5 separate regions of the Homo sapiens genome follow, and regions 2, 3, 4 and 5 are each linked to region 1. Evidence: promoter capture Hi-C in 16 types of primary human blood cells and fetal thymus (Javierre and others, 2016). All regions are on one chromosome and are shown on one strand. The core of a region is centred on a gene start or on the middle of the fragment in contact, and the rest is flanking DNA. Distances in the headings are between cores, read along the strand shown. Region 1 holds the start of ADAMTS18 (ADAM metallopeptidase with thrombospondin type 1 motif 18). Region 2 has its middle 57 kb from the start of LINC02131. Region 3 has its middle 32 kb from the start of LINC02131. Region 4 overlaps LINC02131 (long intergenic non-protein coding RNA 2131). Region 5 has its middle 14 kb from the start of LINC02131.

Region 1 (4,295 bases), core at 1,013-3,512:
AAAAAAAAAAAACTAAGGAATAGTGGAGCCCCTGTAGCTAGCAAAGATCAATGAGTGATGGCCTAATTAGGCTCACATTAAAAAAGAATTCTCCACAATAGACAATAATTTTCTTCTGTTTATGAACCATCTGTGACTTATTCCTTGGGCAGCTTTCATTTTTATATTCTTTATGTCCTCCCACTCCCATTTTTCTTCTTGACTCCCTCCTTTAACTAAAAATGCTGTATAATTGACATACATATTTTACAATAATGGGGGGAAAAGTTTTTCCCCTCTCTTAACCTTGAAAATCTGAGCCAGACATACAATATTTTTCTTCTCTTAAAAATCTGATACATTGCTTTAAAGGGATGTGGCTCTTGATTATGTGCAATTTCTTAGAGAAAGTCTACCTTCTCCTTCTGTCAAACTAAAACTTAACTATGAAAAAGATTCCTGACATATGCAGGAAGTCTGTGTCTCACCTTCTTGTCCCAAATCATCTGAAACTCTGCCTGCTCTTACTTGGAAGGCTCTGTAGGAACGTTATCCAGCCAGCCTTCTATGGAACCAGCCATCAAACGGCCCCAGACACCTGCTACCAGCTTGTTTCCAAGGGGAGAATAACAGGCTGTCGGTTACATTCGGTTCTTGATGGAAGAAGGGCAGTCAGTGTCCCCTGTAAAGAGTGATCTCTGATTGACCACTTCAGGAGGTGAGTAAGGGTGAGGTCCTTACAAGGTTGTGGCTGGGTCGGACGTGGCCTCCAGCCATCTGATCCTGATATAAGAATGAGGGGTGGTTTTAGAAACTGCAGCCTCTCTGTTTGGACAAAAGGTGAATCCCTTCTCCATGACTCCATCCTGCCCCACTCCCCATTCCCCTGACAAGAAAAGGAGATAACCTTGCAAAACTAAAAATTACAGAATTCTAAAGAATCCAGGTTGAGCTGTAAGGTTTTCCTAGACACCTTGCGTCAGGAATCAGCTGTTCTCCTGTAGCTGATGGGAAACAATCAAAACAAGGATTTCCCTCTGGGCTCCACTGGGAAGTTAATAAATGTCAGAAGTGAGGGATTTTCTGGAAGTTTGTGGCTGGCGAACGTCAGAAAAGATAGATAAAGGACTCAGAGACCTGAAGTCACCTGCTTTCCTCTCTCTAAAAGCAGCCTTAGACATCCGTAAAACAAGGGAAGCAGAAATGAAAAAAAAAGAAGAGATAGAAAAGGAACAGAAGTCGAGAGAAAAATGAGGAAAGATGGAGAGAGGAAAGAGGCTCACATTCTTTCATCTCCCACTAAGAATTAGCTTCCCCCAACAAGAGTTAGGAGAGGGAGGAAATAAGTAATTCCTTAGTTAATGTCCACTTCCCTTCGAATTTCTCACTGCAGTTAGGATTTTTTTTTTTTTCTTGTTCTTCTTAACAAGCCACCTGTGAAGGAGGGAGAGTATTTGCTTTTATGTGACTTGCAGCTCGGGGCGTTGATTCTTTTGATAAGTTCAGTCCTTGCCAACCTTCCCCCCTCTCCAAACAGGAACCATTTCCAAGACAGCGCACACCTGCCAGGTTAGGGGGTGCGCTTTTCCATCTTTTCTCTCTTTGGGGGAAGGAAGGGTCAAAGTGCTGCGAAAGGCCCTTCTTGGGGATGGGGGGCAAATACGAACCATCATTTAATCCGCTGGCGCCGCTGCTGCTGTCACTGGCTAAGGCCGCGGCGACCGACGCACAGCAGAGGCAGCACAGCTGGAGCGCCTGCAAGAGAAAAGGTGACATCGCGCGTGAGGGGCGCGGCGGGGCTGGCGTCGGGCGCCCCCTGCCACCCGCTCTCGGAGCTCCGCTCGGCGGCACCTGCCTTGGCCACGCGCCCCAGTCCCGCCAGGCCCCTCGGCGGGCCCGAACCCGCAGCCGGGAAGGCACACGCGAGCAGGAGGGCGCACTCCATGGTCAGGTGCGGACGCGGCGGCTGCGGGTGGCCAGACGCGGCAGGCGGAGCGCACGGGCGGCGCGCATTCTTTCCGCGGCCCCGGAGCTCGGCGCCCCAGGTGCGGCTCCAGGTGAGAGCCGCCGCCGTTCACATCGCAGCGGGGGCGCGCTGGGACCTCCCCTCCTCCGGCCGCCTGCGCGCCCTCCCTTCTCCCGGCGCGGGCCTGCCGAGCTGCAGTTTGCGGCACCCCAGAGGGTACGGGGGGCTCCCTGGGCCGGGACTGGAGCGCAAACGGTTGGGAGACTGTCGGTGTCTGCCCGCCCGTCTGTGCGTCTGTCTGTGTCGGTGTGAGCGTCTGAGGCGATGGGGAAGACAGCGCCAGCTGGCTCCCCCAGCGCGCCGGAGCCGAGCGCCCGCCTCTCCACCGCGCGGTGATTGGCGACCAGCGGCTCCCGGGCTCGTCCGAGCCCCCGGGCTGGTGCAAGGGCGTGGGATTCCCGGCTCCAGCTCTGAGGGAGGGGGCGAAGGGGGCGGGGAGGCTGGGTGGGAGTGATAGGGAGGGAGGGACCGACCGCCATGAGAAGGAGGGGAGCGCCCAGGGTCAGGCTTGGAAAACGTAATTTAAGCGCACTGGGAGATGAGTTCGGAAGACGAAAGGCTCAGGTGAGTGGCGCGACTTTTTCGCTGCCTGTGCAGACTTCTCATTTTCAACTCTTCTGGCAAAGAGTCAAGATAGCGTCCTCAACACCTCCTAAGTGCTGGGAGCTATCCCCTGCTGTATCGCATTTGCCTCAGGCCCTACCTTTTTCAGGTGGGAATTATTAATTCCTTGATAAAGATGAGGAAAAGGAGGCTCAGATGCGCACAAGCTGACCTAGCTTCCCAGAGTCAGCAAATCTGAGGCAGCCGGGAGGACCAGAACAATGAGCTGTCACTGTCTGCAGCATGTAAAAACTCATGGCACGCGGGGGCCTCCCTCTTCTCCCGGATCTCTCTCTCTCTTCTTGACGTGACCGTGCTTCCCACTCTTCGAGATTGAATCTTGGCCCCAGATACCCAAACCCACAGAAATCAGTTATAACAAACAGCGCACGCCATCACTAGGAATGTGCATCCAGTTTGCTGTGTGCCTGTTCGTTTACTCAAGACATTTATTTGATCCTTTGATCCCTGTTTGCAGAGGTGAACAAAATACAGTCTCACGGGCCAGTGGAAACGAATCTGATTGGATAGCTCGACAACGGTAATAGAAGCAAAATGAACACAAATACTAAAAAGGAAAAGAATAGTCTCCTAAATTAGATGGCAGCAGAATCTAATTTAGATGGGATAAGATGTGTGTGTGTGTGTGTGTGTGTGTGTGTGTGTGTGGGTGTATATATACACACACACATATATATACACACACACACGCATACATACACGTGCAAGGCATCTGTTAGGAGCTGACACTTAAAATAAGGCCAGAGAGAGTGGATCGGTTTTATAAGGGAAGAGGGGAGTAGGATCTTGCATGTTAGGACAGGGGGCACAGCATAAGTGAAGGTCTCAAGGTAGTTAAGTGATTGCCACGTGAAAAGTGTTACAGGCCAGAGGAAGAAGCAAACACAGCAGTTGCTGGGTCAGCTGGACCTTGTAAGCTGGGGCGAAGCATGTTGGAAACCATTAGATTTAAATGAATGTGGGTTTGTGTATGTGTAGGAGGCAACATCATATCCAATAATAAAAAAATGTGAACCATTTTTTGAGCGAGTGTAGGGATTGGACGAGCTGAGGCAGGGTCAGAGAGAAACAAACCACGCAGCTGTTGCTGGCATGAAGGGGTACAATGACAGTGTCTTGCTTGGACCAGGGTAGTGGTAGTGGAAGTAGATGTATTACTCTGCTCAGTCCTGTGGGTACTGAAGTAGTTAACATGAGGTCTATGTCAAGCCTCGATTAAGTGATAGCTCAATACACATAGTCGGTTTTATGGAATGCAGCTGGGAAGAGGTAAACCCAGGCTGTAGCGGCAGAGAAGGTGATGTGTCTGCCTAAGGAACATGAAGCTAAGCCTCACAGAACATCAGGGCTAAACAAATCATTTGGGTTTCCCTACTTAATCTGGTTAAGCTCTGTGGCCTCTGTTTTATAATCTGTAAAATAGGAATCAACATGCTACATCAAAAGGATAGCCTGAGGGGTAAGTGAATATATTTTTCAAAGCACATTATAAGTGGACTTTAAGAAGTGATGGTGTATTTCTGTTATTTCATACATCCTGTGTCAAACTTGAATATACGTCAAAATCACCTGTAATGCTAGCTTAAAAATGCAGATTTCCAGGCCATGAAGCACTGTGATTCTGATTCCATGGATTTGGTGTAGGGCCCAAGCATGCATTTGTAGT
Region 2 (4,295 bases), core at 688-3,187, 210 kb after region 1:
AATCCAGAAATTCCATTCCTAGATATTTACTCAACAGAAATGCATCAATCCGCTCATCAATAATTGACATTGTGCAGTAACAGTCATAGCAGCATATTCACAATTTCCCCCAAAGTGGAAATGACCCAAATGCCAACAAAAGTGGAATGGGTAAGAACATGGTGGTACAGTCACACAGTACAATGCTGCATGGTAATAAAAGCAGACAGACTACGACTACACCCAACAACAGGATGACTCACAATTGTGATACACAGCAAGGGAGCCAGACACATTTAAAAGCACTCACTGTGTAATCCCTTTTATATCATATTCAAAAACAAGCAAAATTCATCTATGCTGTTAGAAGTCAGGAGGAAGATTACCTTGAGGGATGGATGGAAAGTGAGTGAGGGAATCTTCTAGAGACACTTAACGTTCACTTTCTTGATCTGGGTGTTGGTTACATAGGTGTATACAGTTTGTGAAAATTCCATGAGCTGTGAATGTGATTTGTATTTTTTTAATTTATGTGATATCTTAATCAACATTCAAAAAACAGAGAGAGTTGTATGACAAAGATAACCCACTGCTCTGTAGCAAAGTTCTTCCCAGCCAGGCTGGGCACTTACCCTTTGCCAAACACGCAAATCTTTTTCATCCCTATTTTTGCTCAGGCCATATTCTCACCTTCAAATTACCCAACTCACCATCTCTGTCCATTAAAACACTTTCCATTTTTTGAAACCCAGCTCAAGGGCCCCACCTCCAAGGAACCTTTCCATTTCTGTAGCCAGAAGGGAATTCTTGCTGCCCCAAACCCTAGAGTGCTTGGATAGCATTTCTCGGACCACAACTCTGAGGTCTTTTGAGCCCCATATATAGCCTGGCAAGTGACAGGTCATTGAGATAGGTTTTCTGTTGTAAGAACATCTACCTTAACCTCATAATGCAGTGATCTGTGTTTGCTTTACTTCCTGCCTTCAGGAAGCTCTTGGGAGAAATAGGTCTACGTGTCTTTGTACTACTCACCACATCCAACCCATAACCATGCATATTTTAGATGCTCAGGTAATGTTTTTGAATAAAGATAAATGTCACCTGTGAAAAGAATTTGCAGTGAAAGAGATACCTTGAAGATCTCAGCAGATCTACTATGTTACTTTTGTTTTCTCTGCCACTCTGTGGCCCAGGCTGGAGTGCAGTGGCATGACCACAGGTCACTGCAGCCTTGGGCTCAAGTGACCTCCCACTTGACCTCCTGAGCTCAAGTGATCCTCCCATCTCAGCCTCCCAAGTAGCTGAGAGTACAAGAGAATGTTACCACACCCAACTATTTTTTTTTTTTTTTTTTTTTTTTTTTTTTGTTGTTGTTGTTGTTGTTGTAGAGACCTGGTCTTGCTCTTTTGCCCAGGCTGGTCTCAAACTCCTGAGCTCAAGCAATCCTCCCACCTCAGCCTCCCAAAGTGCTGGCATTACAGGTGTGAGCCACCATATCCAGCCCTATTTCATGTCTTTATAAAAGAAAATATAGAAGACTTCAATATGAGGTCACCCTTTCTCCTCAGTGGCTGGTATTTTATTGGCTTTGTACTTAATTGAAAGCCCCCTTGGGGGGTCAACTTATCCACACAGGCAAAAATGTGAGCTTTTCAATCAGAAAACTGAAGGCAGCTGAGATGTCTGGATCATAGTGATGAACAGGTTCAGCCCAATTCCAAGTTCCTTGGATCAACCTTGGCAGATGCTTCCACATACTAAGAAAAGGCATCCAACAATCAGATCAGCACAGCAATATGCAATGAAAAATGACAAGAGTGGCATCAACAGACAAGCGTTTAAGCCCACTCCAGCTTTGTCTCCCAGAAGAACAACAGTATTTCTCAAGAGTCCCCGATGTGCCCTCAATCTGTAATTCTGCTCCCCCTTCCCTCTTTTCTTCCCTTTCCAATAAGCTGCACATTGTTCAAGACAAATTCACTGTGAAATGATTTTTTTTAATCATTAGGGCAAAATGAGCAGTGTTAGAGTGCTAAGATTCCTGAATTAATAAAATTGCTGCCATCCATGATTTTAACTTTCTCTTTTCTGTTGACAGAAGCCAAGACATTAGGAGATATTTTCCAGCACTACAGTCAAACTGTGCATTTTTAGATTTGTGGGCAGGCCGAGTGATCTCCAGCCAGAGTCTCAGCCCTCAGTTCTACATTCCTATGTCATTCTCTTACCACAGCATCATTTCTGGTCTCCTCCAAGTCATTGCTTTGGAGAAAATGAAGCACATTTTCAGAATATAAGAATAACCCAGGCAACCTAAGGCCAACTAACAAGGCAGTTGGTGAAGTCAGCAGAAGCAAGAGCTGATATTAGCAACATACATGTGGGTAACACCTTCCATCATGAAGATCTGTATCAAGACATTTTATACCTGCACCAAGAATCTCATTGGTGCGTGCAGCTTACAGGTTCAAGCACCCTAAAGGGTCCACATCTTTTCCTGTTTTTATTAAAAGTACAAGGAAACATGGCACTTAAAATAGGTATGCCAGGACTAACCTACTTACATTCAGGTCTCAACTTGAATTTCCTTTCTCATGAAAGCCTGGCCCAGTACCAGTTAGGAGCTGGACACTCTTAACATTCTTCCTCTATGTCACTTGCTGCAATTGTAATTTACTAATTACGTATGTGATCATCTCTTCACAGAAATTTAAGTTCCATGCAGACAAGGATTGAATCTGTCTTGTCCATGGCTGATATGGTTTGGCTGTATCCCCACCCAAATCTCACCTTGAATTCCCACATGTTGTGGGAGGGACCCGATAGGATAACTGAATCATGGGGGCAGGTCTTTCCCGTCCTGTTCTCATGACAGTGAGTAAGTCTCATGAGATCTGACAATTTCAAAAACGGGAGTTTCCCTGCATAACCTCTCTCTCTTTGCCTGCCACCATCCATGTAAGACATAACATGCTCCTCCTTGCCTTCCTCCGGGATTGTGAGGTCTCTGTCACCCAGGCTGGAGTGCAGTGGCACAATCTCGACTCACTGCAGTCTCTGCCTCCCAGGTTCAAGCGATTCTCCTGCCTCAGCCTCCTGAGTAGCTGAGATTACAGGCATGCACCACTACGCCCAGCTAATTTTTTGTATTTTTAATAGAGACAGTGTTTCACCATGTTGGCCAGGCTGGTCTCGAACTCCTGACCTCAAGTGATCCACCTGCCTTTGCCTCCCAAAGTGCTGGGATCACAGATGTGAGCCACTGTGCCTGGCCCACCTTAGCTCTTTTTTTTAAGTAGGTCTCTTCATTTCCAGCTAGCAGGTAATTCTTGATGCTTTCAGATCACCCCCTACCAGAAAAAGCACTAGTGAATTCCTCATACCCATGTGAATAAAATGAAAGCTCCATAGCTTGGAATACTCCATGTGGTCCCCAACCTGTTTTCAATTCCCTTCCCACATGATCCCTCAACATTCCCCTTCATGCAGGAAGCCTTTCCTAATTATCTTCTACCTGAAGATGTAACCAAATACTCCCACCGCATTTTCTAGAACTTTGTAAATGCTTAATTTTATAAATTAGAAAGCATATGCTAAATTGTTCCTAGTAGTCTGGAAGGATCTTCCAGCCATAACCTAGATCATATTGGTCTTTGTTTATCCAAAAATGCCGAACACTCTGTTTGACCCATAATAGCTTTTCAAAAACATTTCTTGAATTTAATCAAGTTAATTCTTTCATTTATTCTTTGAAACACCCAGTTTCTATTTACCAAGGACCACCCCACCCCAGGGATAAAAATGTAGAATTGTGTGACCTTAGGCACCAGCCTTAACTCTTCTAAACCTTGGTTTCTTTCTCTGTAAAATGATCTCTGCTATGAACCAGGTAAGATAATGCATGTGAAACACTTAGCCTAGTGTCTGGCACATAGTATATGCTCAATAAATGTTAACCTGATATTATTATTATTGTCTCCCAAGGCAGTCTGTTCCATTGCCAGGCAGCTACAATACTAAAGCACTCTTCCCAGTTCTGAGTAAAAATATAGCTTCCAACGACATGAAGCCAAGATTCATTGATCTTAGCTTCCTTGCTTGTGAGCAAGAAGAATCAAGTGACTTCTAAGCAGGCTCAGATAATACTTCTAAAAACCTGATTCTCGGTACCAGGCCTGGACTGAAACGAGGAAACTGAGGTCAACTAGGGAGAGAGAGCTGGATTTCATTAATTCCATGGATTTCTAAGAAGAGCTAAGGTTCTTTAAATGGGTTCCTTTTCTACCTTACAAGTTTCTCTCTGGGAGTCCAATATA
Region 3 (4,295 bases), core at 593-3,092, 190 kb after region 1:
CTAATCACACTATTTAACAGATATTGTCAGAGAAAGTTTTTAAAAATAAAACCTAAGGATGTATTCTCTACAAGATATCTACCCACTTTAAATATAATGATATTTCTAGGTTATGGTAAAAGGATGAGAAAAATATCATGCAAATGCTAGTCAAAAAATACCTGAAGAGACTCTATTAAAATCAGAAAAAGATTTCAGAAAAAAATTACCAGAAATAAAAGGCAACATTATATGATTATAAAAAGGGTAAGTGTACAGAATGTCTATACTGAAAATGTCAAAATATTGATGAAATAATCAAAGAACACCTATATAGAGAAATGTACCCTATTCATAGACTGGAAGTTTTTGTATTGTTAAAATGTCAGTTCTATCCCCCTCCACAAAATGGATACGTAGATTTAATGCACTTCTAACAAGAATATCAAAAAGAGATTTAGTAGCTATGCACAAACTTAATTTAAATTGTATATGATAAACAAAAACAAAGGGAACAGAACCATCAAAACTATTGTGAAGAATAAAGTTGGTGGAGTCATACTTTCTGATTTTAAGACATTATAAAATTTTAATGATCAAGACAATGTCAGAAATCAGACACTAATCAGAAAAGAGTTGGACATATAGAACAATGGAATTGTTTCTAAAGTCCAGAAACAGACCCACACAAATATGGCCAACTGATTTTTGACAAAGGTAAAAAACACATTGGAGAAAAAATTTTTTCCAACAAATAGTATTGGAACAAACGGACATCCATATGCACAAAGTAAACCTTGACCTAAACTTCACATCTTATGCAAAAATTAACTCAAAATAGATCAGAGATCTCCTTTGCAAAACATAAAACTCTAAAACTTTTAGAAAAAAAAGAAGAAAAACTTTGTTACATGGGGTTACACAAAAAGTTCTTAAACACAGTCGTTTCTGAAAAATTTAAACATACATTTATCATACGATCCAGCAATCCTACTTCTAGGTATTTATCTTTGCAAACTGAAAACTTGAAGTTCCCTCAATAAAGCTGTACACAAATGTTTATAGAAGCTTTATCTGTGATAGCCAAAAACCTCAAACAACTTAAATATACTTAAATGGATAAAGAGATCCATAGATTCATACCGTGGAATACTATTCAGCAACAAAAAAGAACAAACTATTGATACAGTGTAACAACTTGAGTGAATCTCAAAGGCATTATGCTGATTGGAAAAAAAAAACAGTTTCCAAAAGGTTGCATAATGTAGGATTCTTTTATATAACATTCTGGAGCAAAGCAAAACTACAGTAATGGAGGACAGATCAGTGGTTTCCAGGGGTTAAGGATGGAGGAGGAGATATTACTACAAAGCAGCAGCATTAGATAATTTAAGGGGAACAAAGAACTGTTTCAGATCCTGATTGTGGTCATGGTTACATGCATCTACACATGTGTTAAAACTCACAGAAGTTTACACCAAAAAAAAGTCAATTTTAATGTTGATGTAAAAAATAAAATTTAAAAAAACTAGATTGGGGTAAAGGGAGATACTGTCACTCCCCCAAGAAATAAAACCCATAAGTTGGCAATAACAGCAAAAGAGATACTCAGAAACTCAAATCAGGACTTAAGACACTGGGTATATTTCCTTTCAAAGCAAAGTCATCCCTCTTTATTTTTTATGATTGATTCATTTCTAATTATTTCACTACCTTTAGGGGTACAAGGCATTTTTGGTTACACAGACGAATTGTATACCGGTGCTGGGCTTTTAGTGTACCTGTCACCTGAACAGTGCACATTGTACTCAATAGGTGGTTTTTCATCCTTTATTTCCCTCCCAACCTTCCCCTTTCTCAGTCTCCAATGTTCATTATACCCCTCTATATGCCGCTTAGCTCCCGCTTGTAAGTGAGAATATGTGGTATTTGGTTTTCTATTCCTCAGTTACTTCACTTAGGATAATGACCTCCCAACCAAGTTGCTGCACAAGACATTATTTCATTCTTTTTCTATGGCTGAGTAGTATTCCATGGTATATGCCACATTTTCTTTATCCACTCATTGGCTGATGGGCACTTAGGTTGATTCCACATCTTTGCAATTGTGAATTGGCCTGTGATAAACATGCATGCACAGGTGTCTTTTTTTATATAATGACTTATTTTCTTTTGAGTAGACTCCCAGTAGTATGATCGCTGGATCAAATGGTAGATCTCCTTTTAGTTCTTTGTGAAATCTCTATACTGTTTTCTATGGTGGTTGTATTAATTTACATTCCCACCAGCAATATATAAGGATTCCCTTTTTACCACATGTACACCAACATCTACTGTTTGTTTGGTTTTGTTTTTTTTTTTTACTTTTTAATAATGGCCATTCTGGCTGGGGTAAAGTTGGCATCATATTGCGGTTTTAATTTGCGTTTCCCTGATTAGTGATGCTGAACATTTTTAATATGTTTATTGGCCATTTGTGTATCTTCTTTTGAGAAATGTCTGTAAATGTCACTTGTCCCCTTTTTAATGGGATTTTTTTTTTCTTGCTGATTTGAGTTTCCTGTAGATTCTGGATATGAGCACTTTACTGGAGATACAGTCTGCAAATATTTTCTTATTCTTTAGGTTGGCTGTTTACTCTATTTCTTTTCGTGTGCAGAAGCTTTTTAGTTAGCTCTCATTTATTTTTGCCTTTTTTTTTTCTTCCCCCTGAGACAGAGCCTCGCTCTGTCGCCCAGGCTGGAGTGCAGTGGCGTGATCTCGGCTCACTGCAACCTACGCCTCCCAGGTTCAAGCGATTCTCCTGCCTCAGCCTCCCAAGTACCTGGGACTACAGGGCACCTGCCACCACGCCCGGCTAATTTTTACAGTTTTAGGAGAGACGGGGTTTCACCATATTGACCAGGATGGTCGCAAATTCCTGACCTTGTGATCTGCCCGCCTCGGCCTCCCAAAGTGCTGGGATTACAGGCATGAGCCACCGCACCCAGCTCTATTTTTGCTTCTGTTACATTTGCTTTGCCATACATTCTTTACCTAGGCCAATGTCCAGAAGAGTGTTTTCTAGGTTTTATTCTAGAATTTTTATGGTTTCTTAGATTTAAGCTTTAATCTACGTTGAATTAATTTTTCTATGTGGTGAGAGATAAAGATCGTTTCATTCTTCTGCATGTGGCCAACCAATTTTCCCAGCACCATTTATCAAATAGGGTGTCCTCCCCCAGTGTATATTTTTGTCTGCCTTGTTGAAGATCAGTTAGTTGTAAGTAGGGTCAGCTCCCATTATATTTCACAGTTTTGTCAATGGTTTCATCACCAAAATGAAGACACTACAGGGAAGAGCCCTAGTGGCAGAGAAACTGTATTAGACAAAATGCTAAAGTCGTGAGGCGATGGACAGCAGGTGTCTTAAATCCAGGATTAACGTGTGGTAGAGATAAGAAAGCAAAGAGCCTTCTCTGGGCTTCTTTCTTCTTACCTGTATCACAGGCAGCTGCCGTACAAAGCCGGGAAGTGGTTAAGAAACTGAAAACAGTGTGGGTTAAAATTTCAGCTCTGCTTCTTACCAGTTGAAAGACTAGTCAAATGCTTTGACATCTGTATTATTATTTTGTCAGGATCTCACTGTCACCCAGTCTGGAGAGCAATGGCGCGACCTCGGCTCACGGCAACCTCGGCCTCCTGGGTTCAAGCGATACTCCTGCCTCAGCCTTCCAAGTAGCTGGGATTACAGGCCAGCATGCCTGGCTTATTTTTGTATTTTTAGTAGAGACGAGGTTTCAACCATGTTGGCCAGGCTGGTTTCGAGCTCCTGACCTCAGGTGATCTGCCCACCTCAACCTCCCAGAGTGCTGAGATTACAGGCATGAGCCACCGCAACCAGCCCAAATGCTTTGACTTCTTTATGTCTCTCTTTGCCTCTATGCTGCATTGTCTCATCCAAATGTAAAATTACACAAAAGCACCTATCCTTCAGGGTCGTCAGGGGAATTGAGACAATCTTACTACTATACTTGAAAAGCAGTACCTGGTACAGGAGAGACATACAACAAATGTTACTGATTTTTAAAACGATTATCTCTAAAACTGGAGAGACAGAGCAGTATCTCTCAAACTTATTGTCTTCCAAGTGAGTTTTTCTTTTACATTTTTTGCTAAGCATTCCTCCTCTCCATGAAATTTTAATGCCACAGATATGCTGTAGATCTTTTTATGTGCCATAGCCCTTCGGAGAGCCACAAACCATTGTAATAGTTAATATTTATTTTTTTTAGCCACTCCCAAGAACCAATTTTTACCCCCTTGCTAGCAGTATT
Region 4 (4,295 bases), core at 954-3,453, 160 kb after region 1:
TAGCTCAACAATACATATTTTGGTATTAAATCTGGCAGCGATCTCCAATTTACAAGCTCCACATTATTCCTAGTATTCTTTTTAGCAAATATCATGCATATTGCACAGTACTTTTATTTATTTAGAATACCTATCGATGATCTTTCTGTATTTATAGATAGGCCATGAGACCAATTACATACAGAAGAAAAATGTGTTTATATCAAAGTACACTATATTCCAAGTATCAAATGTAAGATGGTGACAATAACTGAAGTGAAAATTGAAAGAGGGGAGAGGTTGCCTGATTCCTGAATAGCTGTCAAGGAGGAGAGGAGACTCTACCTTGGTTTATGGATGGGTCCAATATGGACATACAGAAAAGTAGGTCAAGAAGAGATGAAGCATGAGAAAAACCTTGGAGATGAATGTGAGAATGTTTAGTTGCTCATTAATATTTAAGGAGGAGTAAATATAAGAATATTGGAAGATCACTTGAGGCCAGGAGTTTCAGACCAGCTGGGACAATACAGCATTTCTACAAAAGATAGTTTTAAAATTACCTGAGCGTGATGGCATGCACCTGTAGTCCCAGCTACTCAGGAGGATTGCTTGAGCCCAGGAGTTGGAGGCCGCAGTAGGCTATGATTGCACCCCTGCACAATAGCCTGGGCAACAGAGCAAGACTATCTGTTTAAAAACAAATAAACAAACAAACCAACCTGAAAAAAATAACACTGATAGAGTAAAAAATATGACAAGGAACTTGTAGAAGGTGAGGACAGAAGGTTATGCTGTGGAAAATAATAGTGTATAAAATGGGGAAGGTATCTGGTCTACTTCATGACATCAGGTTAGAGTTCAGACTCAACTCTTGAGGAAGAAGTTGTGCTATACATCTTTTGATATCTCCTGCATCTAACACAGTGCTTAACATGTAGAAAGCTTCCAATAAAATATTAAAGATGGAATGAGGTCACATGCACAATGGCATTTTGACGAACACAAAGCATGCACGACATCATGCGATTATTAATATTGATGAGGAAAGAGTATTCAAAGGAAATTTCCATAGGATTCCTGAGAGATGAATAATAAATTGAGGGTCTCTGGCAATCGTTAACATTGTTGTCAAAGTTCAACAGGCATTTCCTTCTCAAAAACAATGAAGGGAAACCCATTCTACTGGTTCCTGCTACAACTGGGGATATTATGCCAAAAGGGCAAGAGGAATAGAGATTCCTATGTGGCCCTTTTTGAATTTCGGAATTGAGACACACTCTACCCTTCCCCCCACCCAGTCTCCCCTAATTAAAAAAAAAATAGCAATAGCCTTTAATATAAGCAAACAGGAAGTTTTACATTCACCAAATGCTACAGTTCACCTTCCATTGCATGACAGCTCAAGCTATGGAATCAGACAGACCTGGGTTCAGGTCCCAGCTCAGCAATTTATTAGCTCTGCCACTTTAGACAAGTTACTGAGCTTCTTTGAGCCTTTGTAAGAAGATGAGGCAGCAAAAGCAACACCTATCTCATACAACTTATGAGGATGATGGAAGTGATGAATAGGAAACCTAATTACCCACATGTAAATACCAGCTTGGAGACAAAATGATCTCATTTCAAGGAGACATCAAAAGCCAATGAGACAATTTCTGTTGAGTTGAAAATCCCACAAAGATTTCATCCACGTTGTAAATTGGTACTTGATATTAATCTATTTTTTGACTCCTCCTAAGTGCAGTGTTGCCTTCACACGTAGCTGCGTCTCTCAGCAGGGTGATCCATATCCACAGATTGCCCACAGCTGTCTCAACCACATGAAAGACCCAGACACTCCCAAATGACCCACTGGCACAAGGTAGCCATTCATCAAATGCTAGAAGCTCAGCACCAGACACAATGAAAGGTTAGCGCTCGGTTTTTATTGCGTCGGTATTAGCTTTCCCTGTCTGCAGCCATTTGATTGGTACAAAGCTTTACACTGTTTACAAATGTTTTAGAGTCCTGGCCTTTTCTTCTTATTGACTTTTACATACTCACATCATTAATCTTTAATTTTCATTGGAAACTACATCCAGCAATCAAAATGAAATGCTGCCTTCTGCCATGTGCCTCAAAAGTCCTGATGAATTGCACACCACTAAAGAGTCTAGGTAGAGTACAGTGTGTTGGGAGGAGAATTGCCATTACTCATTCTATGCAAAAGTTGAAACTGTTATTTTTGTGACACCGCATGTGCACTTGATACCAGCCACGTATTTTCTAGCATACAGTGAGCATTTCATACAGAGCAGTGGTTTTTATTGGCTATGGTTATCTCCATAACTGATATCCTTGAGAAAAACAATTGATATTTATCAAAGATAGGAAGTAACTTCTGAAGTAAATAACATTCTTTGTCAGTGATAACTGTTACAGAAATAGCAGAGCAATGAAAGAAGTAGCAGTGTCACTATATAATCCAAGCTTGAGAGTGCTGAACAAGGGTGTAATGCAATTTGCCATTTTGCTTACTGATGTCACATATAAATGGGGAAGACACAGTGGCATACTTTTGAGAAAAAGGAATTGTTTTCAGATTTCTTTCAAATAATTTCCAAGATCAGCATTGTCAAGTGCAACAATCTGTAATGATGGAAAAGTTGCACAACAGCAAAAAGCTGGCATGCATCTGTGTCATTAAAAACTCAGTATGATTTAACAAATTTTAGCTAAGATTTAAAAATACCGTGTTATGTGATGTGGATATGCCAGACATTACTTAGTTACTCCCCTACTTTTTCTTATTATAGTTATTTTTCATTTTTTTATTGTAAATATTTTCATAATGTCAATCAAAGAGTACTTTTGAGATCCAATGATATATACTGAAACTTTGAGAAGCTAGTTATGCCATTAGGAATCCCAGTCTCTTAAGAGTTTTGCTTACCATTTAAGACGAATCTGAAAGAAACAGTCAATCAACATTGCATTAATCCATTAATGAATATAATTATATGGATGTAACTGAGACAGGATTTTCAATACACAAAACGTGTGCTGTTAAGAAATAGATAAAAAGGAAGCCTATAAAGATTTTACCCCAAGTTGCAATAGTTCCTTGCTATCAAATTTTTGGATTGGTTTATAAAACTTTATGTTCAATACTTCCTGTTTAATTCATGAAGCATATTCTGGCCAATATGGGTGAAACCACAGAGAAAGAAAAGTAAACAAGTATACTTAGGATAATTCATGGTAATTGCTCTTATGAAAGAGATTATGAATCATTTTATCTCTACAAATTTGATGCATTTCCAAGCATTCTGGTGTGGCACAAGAATATTACAGATTCAATTCCTCAATTCCCAAGCATTTCCTGTTTCCCAAGCCTTCTGATGTGGTACAAGAATATTAAAGACTCATTTCCTGATTTTGATAAAGTTACAGTGTGGCTGGGAGGCAAGACATGCACAAAGATACTAAACATAAGTTTACATAAGTTATGTCAAAGTAAATGCTTTGAAAGAAAAGGTAAAATCTCCATGACTGGGATGTCAGGATAATGCCATAAGGGAGTGGATGAAAATTTGTCTTTGAGGAATGCAGTAAGCCTCATAAAATCATCATAAAGAAGAATGGAAAATAAAGACTCCTGGTGTGTCTGCGAAATAATTAGAGGACTAATCTGTGTAGAGGAAATACATTTATTGGAGGCAGGTGAGGTAAGGTAAAAGAAGGCAAAGACACTGGCTGCAGTCTGAATCTTCAGGGCTTTATTCTACACCCAATAGAGATGTCATTTAACAACGTAATGACTTACAAAGATTCTTGCTTTCAGATATTGGTCCGAGCATGATGTGATCAGGGGAAAGAACGGTGGGGACAGGAAGATCACTTTAGGGAGCCATCTTGCACATTTGGAATAAGAGGAGAATACAGGAGAATAAAATATGAACTCAATGACATCAGCAGAAATAAAAATTCTTTCAGAGGGATACTGAAGAAGCATGATTAACAGACTTTTGAGGTTATATGGATATTGTCAAAGAGGCAATGCATCATAAAAAACCACCCTAAAATTGTAAACTCAGTTGTTGGAAGAACTTATGATATGACCACTGAGAAAAAGAGAAGTTAAAGAAAAGTATTAATTTAGGAATGGCAGAGACCAGATGATATATGAGTCTGGTTTAAGACATGCTGAATTGAATCTATTGATATATTACTAGATGGAGGGACTTAGAGGATGGTTAAAAATATTTGGCTGAAGCTCAGGAAAGAGATTGGACACTGGGAGTCCCCTGTTGGACAGCTGAAGCTATAACATT
Region 5 (4,295 bases), core at 643-3,142, 140 kb after region 1:
TTTCTCCCTTCAGTGGCCCTGGTTGCTGTGGAGATTTTAGAGTTTTCCACACAGCCCACGCCTGACCTCTCATCTCCCCACGGTGCTCAGACGGCCCAGGGAAATCCTGGAGGGGACCTGCCAAGGGCTGTGGCCGAGGAAGCAGATCTCCCTCCTTATCGGCGGAGTAGGTCAACTTCCCCCCATTCTTTCCAAGAGGAAAACGTACCAGGCAGCCAGGCTCATCAGAGCTGCCTGACAAAGGCCAACTGGTGAAGAGGTGAAGCAGAAATGGCCCAGCGGCCTGAGTATCAGCTACCCCTGACTCAGCTGCAGGGTTTTGCAGGCCAGGGCCAGAGAGGGGCAGGGAACAGCTGCTGGTTGTCCTCTAAGGCAACCTGCCTTTCCCCTACCACACAAGCCGTCATTACCCCCTTCCTTCCTCTCCCCGTCACTCTGAAGTGCCCTCTGTTTTCCCAATGTCACTTTGCTCTGGCAAAGTCAGGCAGGCCACACGAAAGGGGTTTCCTTAAGTTGAATATTAATTCAAATACTCCAAGTGAGCACTTAAAGGAGCTGGTACAGTGAAGTACTGTACGTAACCCCTAGAACGTTCTTTGTCACCCTAACTTTATCATTGTTCCTTTTGCTCTTATTCTGAGGCTTTCATCCACATCATCTCCTGTGTGAAAGATGTTTTCTACTTGCATTTTAAGCCACCCTTGAAGACAGGTAACAGAATGTACACATAGCACAGTATACATTCACTTATTTTTTAAATCCCCAACAACACATAACTTCATGTCAGGTACTGTGTAGGTGCTTGGTGAGGGCTTGTATAAATCGATAAATTGATCAAAAGTATCCGGCAATCAACAACTCCACTTCTTAGTTTTGTCTTGAATCTGAACATTCACTCACTCGCTAGCCCAGTGTCATTTGATCACTCAGTCTCTCATTTAACCACTGTGCAGTTATTTTCAGGGCACCTCCCAGGTGTCAGGCACCACACCAGGTGCTGGAGCCATAATGGTGGAAGAAAGACATTGTCCCCAAACTCATGAATATATGCCTAGCAGTGGGGTACACATTCATAAAGAAAAAAAAAATTTTTTTTTTGGTATTCCCAAGACTTTTCACTAATTCAAAGTGCCCTTTCAAGTCATGCAAATAATTTGAGATTCACAGTGTCTTAAAAAGCCCTAGAGCTCAACCATGTGCACCTTAAATAGAAAAATAAGTTTATGTTACATCACACTCAATTTAACTTACTTTCCTTCTTGGTCCATGCAAGATCTTTAGCTTCCCCCCACCGCTTCCTTTTATCTCTAATTTCTGCTCCCATTTTCTACCCCATAAACCGTACTATACAATTTTCAGTATGTATCCTTAAATATGCTTGTAATATTATAAATTTTGTGCTTTATGTATATGTATGCGCATGTGTGTTAAATTTACATTGAAGGTTTTGTGTTCAAAATCATATCCTGTTTCTTTTCTTTTTTCTATTTATTTTATTTATTTATTTATTTATTTATTTATTTATTTATTTATTTGAGATGGTGTCTCGCTCTATTGCCCAGGCTGGAGTGCAGTGGCATGATCTTGGCTCATGGCAACCTCTGCCTCCTGGGCTCAAGCAATTTTCCTTGCCTCAGCCTCCCGAATAGCTGGGACTACAGGCGCCCGCCACCCGGCCCAACTAATTTTTGTATTTCTTAGTAGAGATGGGGTTTCACCATGTTAGCCAGGCTGGTCTTCAACTCCTGACCTCAGGGTATCACCTGTCTCGGTCTCCCAAAGTGCTGGGATTACAGGCGTGAGCCACCATGCCCAGCCTCTTAATTAGAATTTTTATACAATCTGTACAGCCTGCTGTATCTTATGTGTTTAACGAATTAATACAGAATGCTGTATAGTATTTGTATCCATTTCTGGTTGCTGCTGTAACAAATTGCCACAAACTTAGTAGCTTGCACAATACAAATGAATCATCTTCCAACTCTCCAGGTCAGAAGTCTGAAATGCATCTCACTAAATCAAAAGTTTCACTAAATGCATCTCACTAAGGGCTAAAGTCAAGACATTGGCAGAGCTTCATTCCTTCCTAGGAGAAAATCTTCTGTTTTGTAAACTCTATGGCTCTAGGGAAAAATCTATTTCTTTGCCCTTTCTTGCTTCTAGAGGCCTCCCACATTTCTTGGCTTGTGGCCCCTTCCTCCATCTTCAAAGCTAGGAATGGCAGGCCAAGTCTTTCTCATGCCACATCACTCTGACACTAATTTTTCTGTCTCCTTCTTCCACATTTAAGGACCCTGGTTACATGGGCCTACAAGAATAATCCAGAATAATCTATTTTAAAATCAGCTTATTAGCAGCCTTACTTCCATCTAATCATCACCCTTTTTCCATGTAAGGTAACACATCCATAGGCTCCAGGAATTAGAATGTGGAGAGTGTGTGTGTGTGTATAATGGTGGGAAGAGACAAAGAATTATTCTGCCTATCACAGTATTCCATACTGTGTGTCCATTGTGTGTCTAATGAGTTAATAGAGAATAATGCATTGCACTGGTGCCCATTTCCTATTGCTGCTATAACAAACTGCCACAAATTTAGTGACTTACACCATCCAAGTATATTATCTTCCAGTTCCAGAGGTCAGAACAAAAAAAACATATACATAGGGTTTTTTGAGGTAGAGTCTTGTTATGTTGCTCAGGTTGGTCTCGAACTCTTGGGCCCAGCTGATCCTCCTGACTCAGCCTAGTTTTCTGTCTCCAGGGAAATAAGAGACACCAATTCCTTGCTAAAACAAACAGGGTCTTGTTGTTCATTCTAGCAGATCTGTGAGAGAATTTCTCTGGGATATATATATATACATATACATATACATATACATATACATATACATATACATATACACCTGGGGATGGGATTATTGAGTTTTAAATAGGATTTATAGTTATGATACTGCATGATTTCACAAAAGGAAATGTTCACTTTGACTCTCTAGCAGGCAGGCAGTATTTCTATGGAAAATACAAGAAGAAGATATTAGACCAGGCACAATGGCTCATGCCTGTAATCCCAACACTTTGGGAAGCTGAGGCTGGCAGGTCACTTGAGGTCAGGAGTTCAAGACCAGCCTGGCCAACATGGTAAAACTTCATCTCTACTAAAAATATAAAAATTATCCAGGTGTGGCGGCATGCACTGGTAATCCCAGCTACTCTGGAGGCCGAAGCAGGAGAATCGCTTGAACCTGGGAGGTGGAGGTTGCAGTGAGCTGAGATTGTGCCACTGCACTCCAGCCTGAGTGACAGAGTAAAGACTCCATCTCAAACAAAAAAAAAAGAAAGAAAAAGAATTCCACGACATTGCAGCTGTACACAAATTTTTCATCTTTTTCCACTTTCCAGGCATATGATGGGATCACCCCACTCTGACCTTTTTGAAGATAGGCATGCAACTTGTTTTGGCCAATGAAATGTGATGGGAAGTGATAATGTGCCCTCCAGAGAGAAGCTGTAAGAGCCAGTGCACAGCTTTACTACCTGCCACGGAGATCATAGACACCTATGCTGATATGAAACCTTCATCAAACGCTGGGTCTCTAAATGACTGCAATGGACAGAGACCCCTGCCCCATCACCAATAATCTTGCCAACCAACTGGACGTTTAGAATCAGGAAAAAGAAAATCAAGTTTTTATTAGGTAAAGCCACTGAATTGTGTGGCACTTGTTATTGTACCATTACATAGTCTATCCTGACCAACATGTCCTTAAAAACAGGAATAATCCAAATTTAAACATTTAGATGTCGAGAAATGTTATAAAGCACTTTCTTACCTATTATTTCTATGTTTATCACTTGATTCTGCCTTTATCCCTCAGGGTCATGGGCCGGTTTTCCTTTCCTTTCTATTCACCCTGTTGATGAAGATATATTCAAACTATCTCTTCATTATCTTGCTCACTGATTGGTGATACCTAGTGGTACCTCCAACTGACAGCGTGTTCCTTGAGTGCATGGGCCGCATTTTCTCATCAAGTCCAGGCACAATAGTTGCTATCTGTCATGCTTGTAGTGGTCAAGTAGTGCTGACTTAGGAAATTATTCTCCTAATTTTATATATACTAAAGGAGGCTCAGAGAGGACAGAAAACTGGCTAAGGTCACACAGCCAGGAAGAAGAGGTCAGGATGAGAACACCCAGGCCCCCCATGTAACATAATTCATTCTCGGCCAAATCCAGTCAGAAGAGTTCCACGGTACTATCCAGGACCTAACCCATCACTGCCTTGCCCACCCC

The links. The method cuts DNA at HindIII sites, captures the fragments that hold promoters and counts their contacts. A CHiCAGO score of 5 or more calls a contact.
Region 2: a fragment that was not itself captured here is called in contact with the fragment with the promoter of ADAMTS18 in region 1 in 1 of 17 cell types (endothelial precursors); the score reaches 8.5 in endothelial precursors.
Region 3: a contact is called between a fragment that was not itself captured here and the fragment with the promoter of ADAMTS18 in region 1, in 1 of 17 cell types (endothelial precursors). The highest score is 6.2, in endothelial precursors.
Region 4: a fragment that was not itself captured here is called in contact with the fragment with the promoter of ADAMTS18 in region 1 in 1 of 17 cell types (endothelial precursors); the score reaches 15.3 in endothelial precursors.
Region 5: a fragment that was not itself captured here is called in contact with the fragment with the promoter of ADAMTS18 in region 1 in 1 of 17 cell types (endothelial precursors); the score reaches 16.3 in endothelial precursors.

The regions. Positions count from the first base shown.
Region 1 is chr16:77,432,772-77,437,066 of GRCh38, forward strand. It overlaps ADAMTS18 (ADAM metallopeptidase with thrombospondin type 1 motif 18), which reads right to left and starts at 2,263. Exons shown (of 23, transcript NM_199355.4): 1 at 1,835-2,263; 2 at 1,647-1,734. The coding sequence starts at 1,924. RefSeq lists an enhancer at 1,959-2,459. The HindIII fragment of the contact is 7,514 bases long and covers 1-4,295 here.
Region 2 is chr16:77,645,745-77,650,039 of GRCh38, forward strand. No RefSeq gene overlaps it. Among named protein-coding and RNA genes, the nearest start is that of LINC02131, 57 kb to the left of the region's middle. The HindIII fragment of the contact is 5,695 bases long and covers 1-4,295 here.
Region 3 is chr16:77,620,833-77,625,127 of GRCh38, forward strand. No RefSeq gene overlaps it. Among named protein-coding and RNA genes, the nearest start is that of LINC02131, 32 kb to the left of the region's middle. The HindIII fragment of the contact is 1,594 bases long and covers 1,046-2,639 here.
Region 4 is chr16:77,593,144-77,597,438 of GRCh38, forward strand. The region is part of intron 1 of LINC02131 (long intergenic non-protein coding RNA 2131); the gene reads left to right. Among named protein-coding and RNA genes, the nearest start is that of LINC02131, 4.4 kb to the left of the region's middle. The HindIII fragment of the contact is 492 bases long and covers 1,958-2,449 here.
Region 5 is chr16:77,574,979-77,579,273 of GRCh38, forward strand. No RefSeq gene overlaps it. Among named protein-coding and RNA genes, the nearest start is that of LINC02131, 14 kb to the right of the region's middle. The HindIII fragment of the contact is 6,778 bases long and covers 1-4,295 here.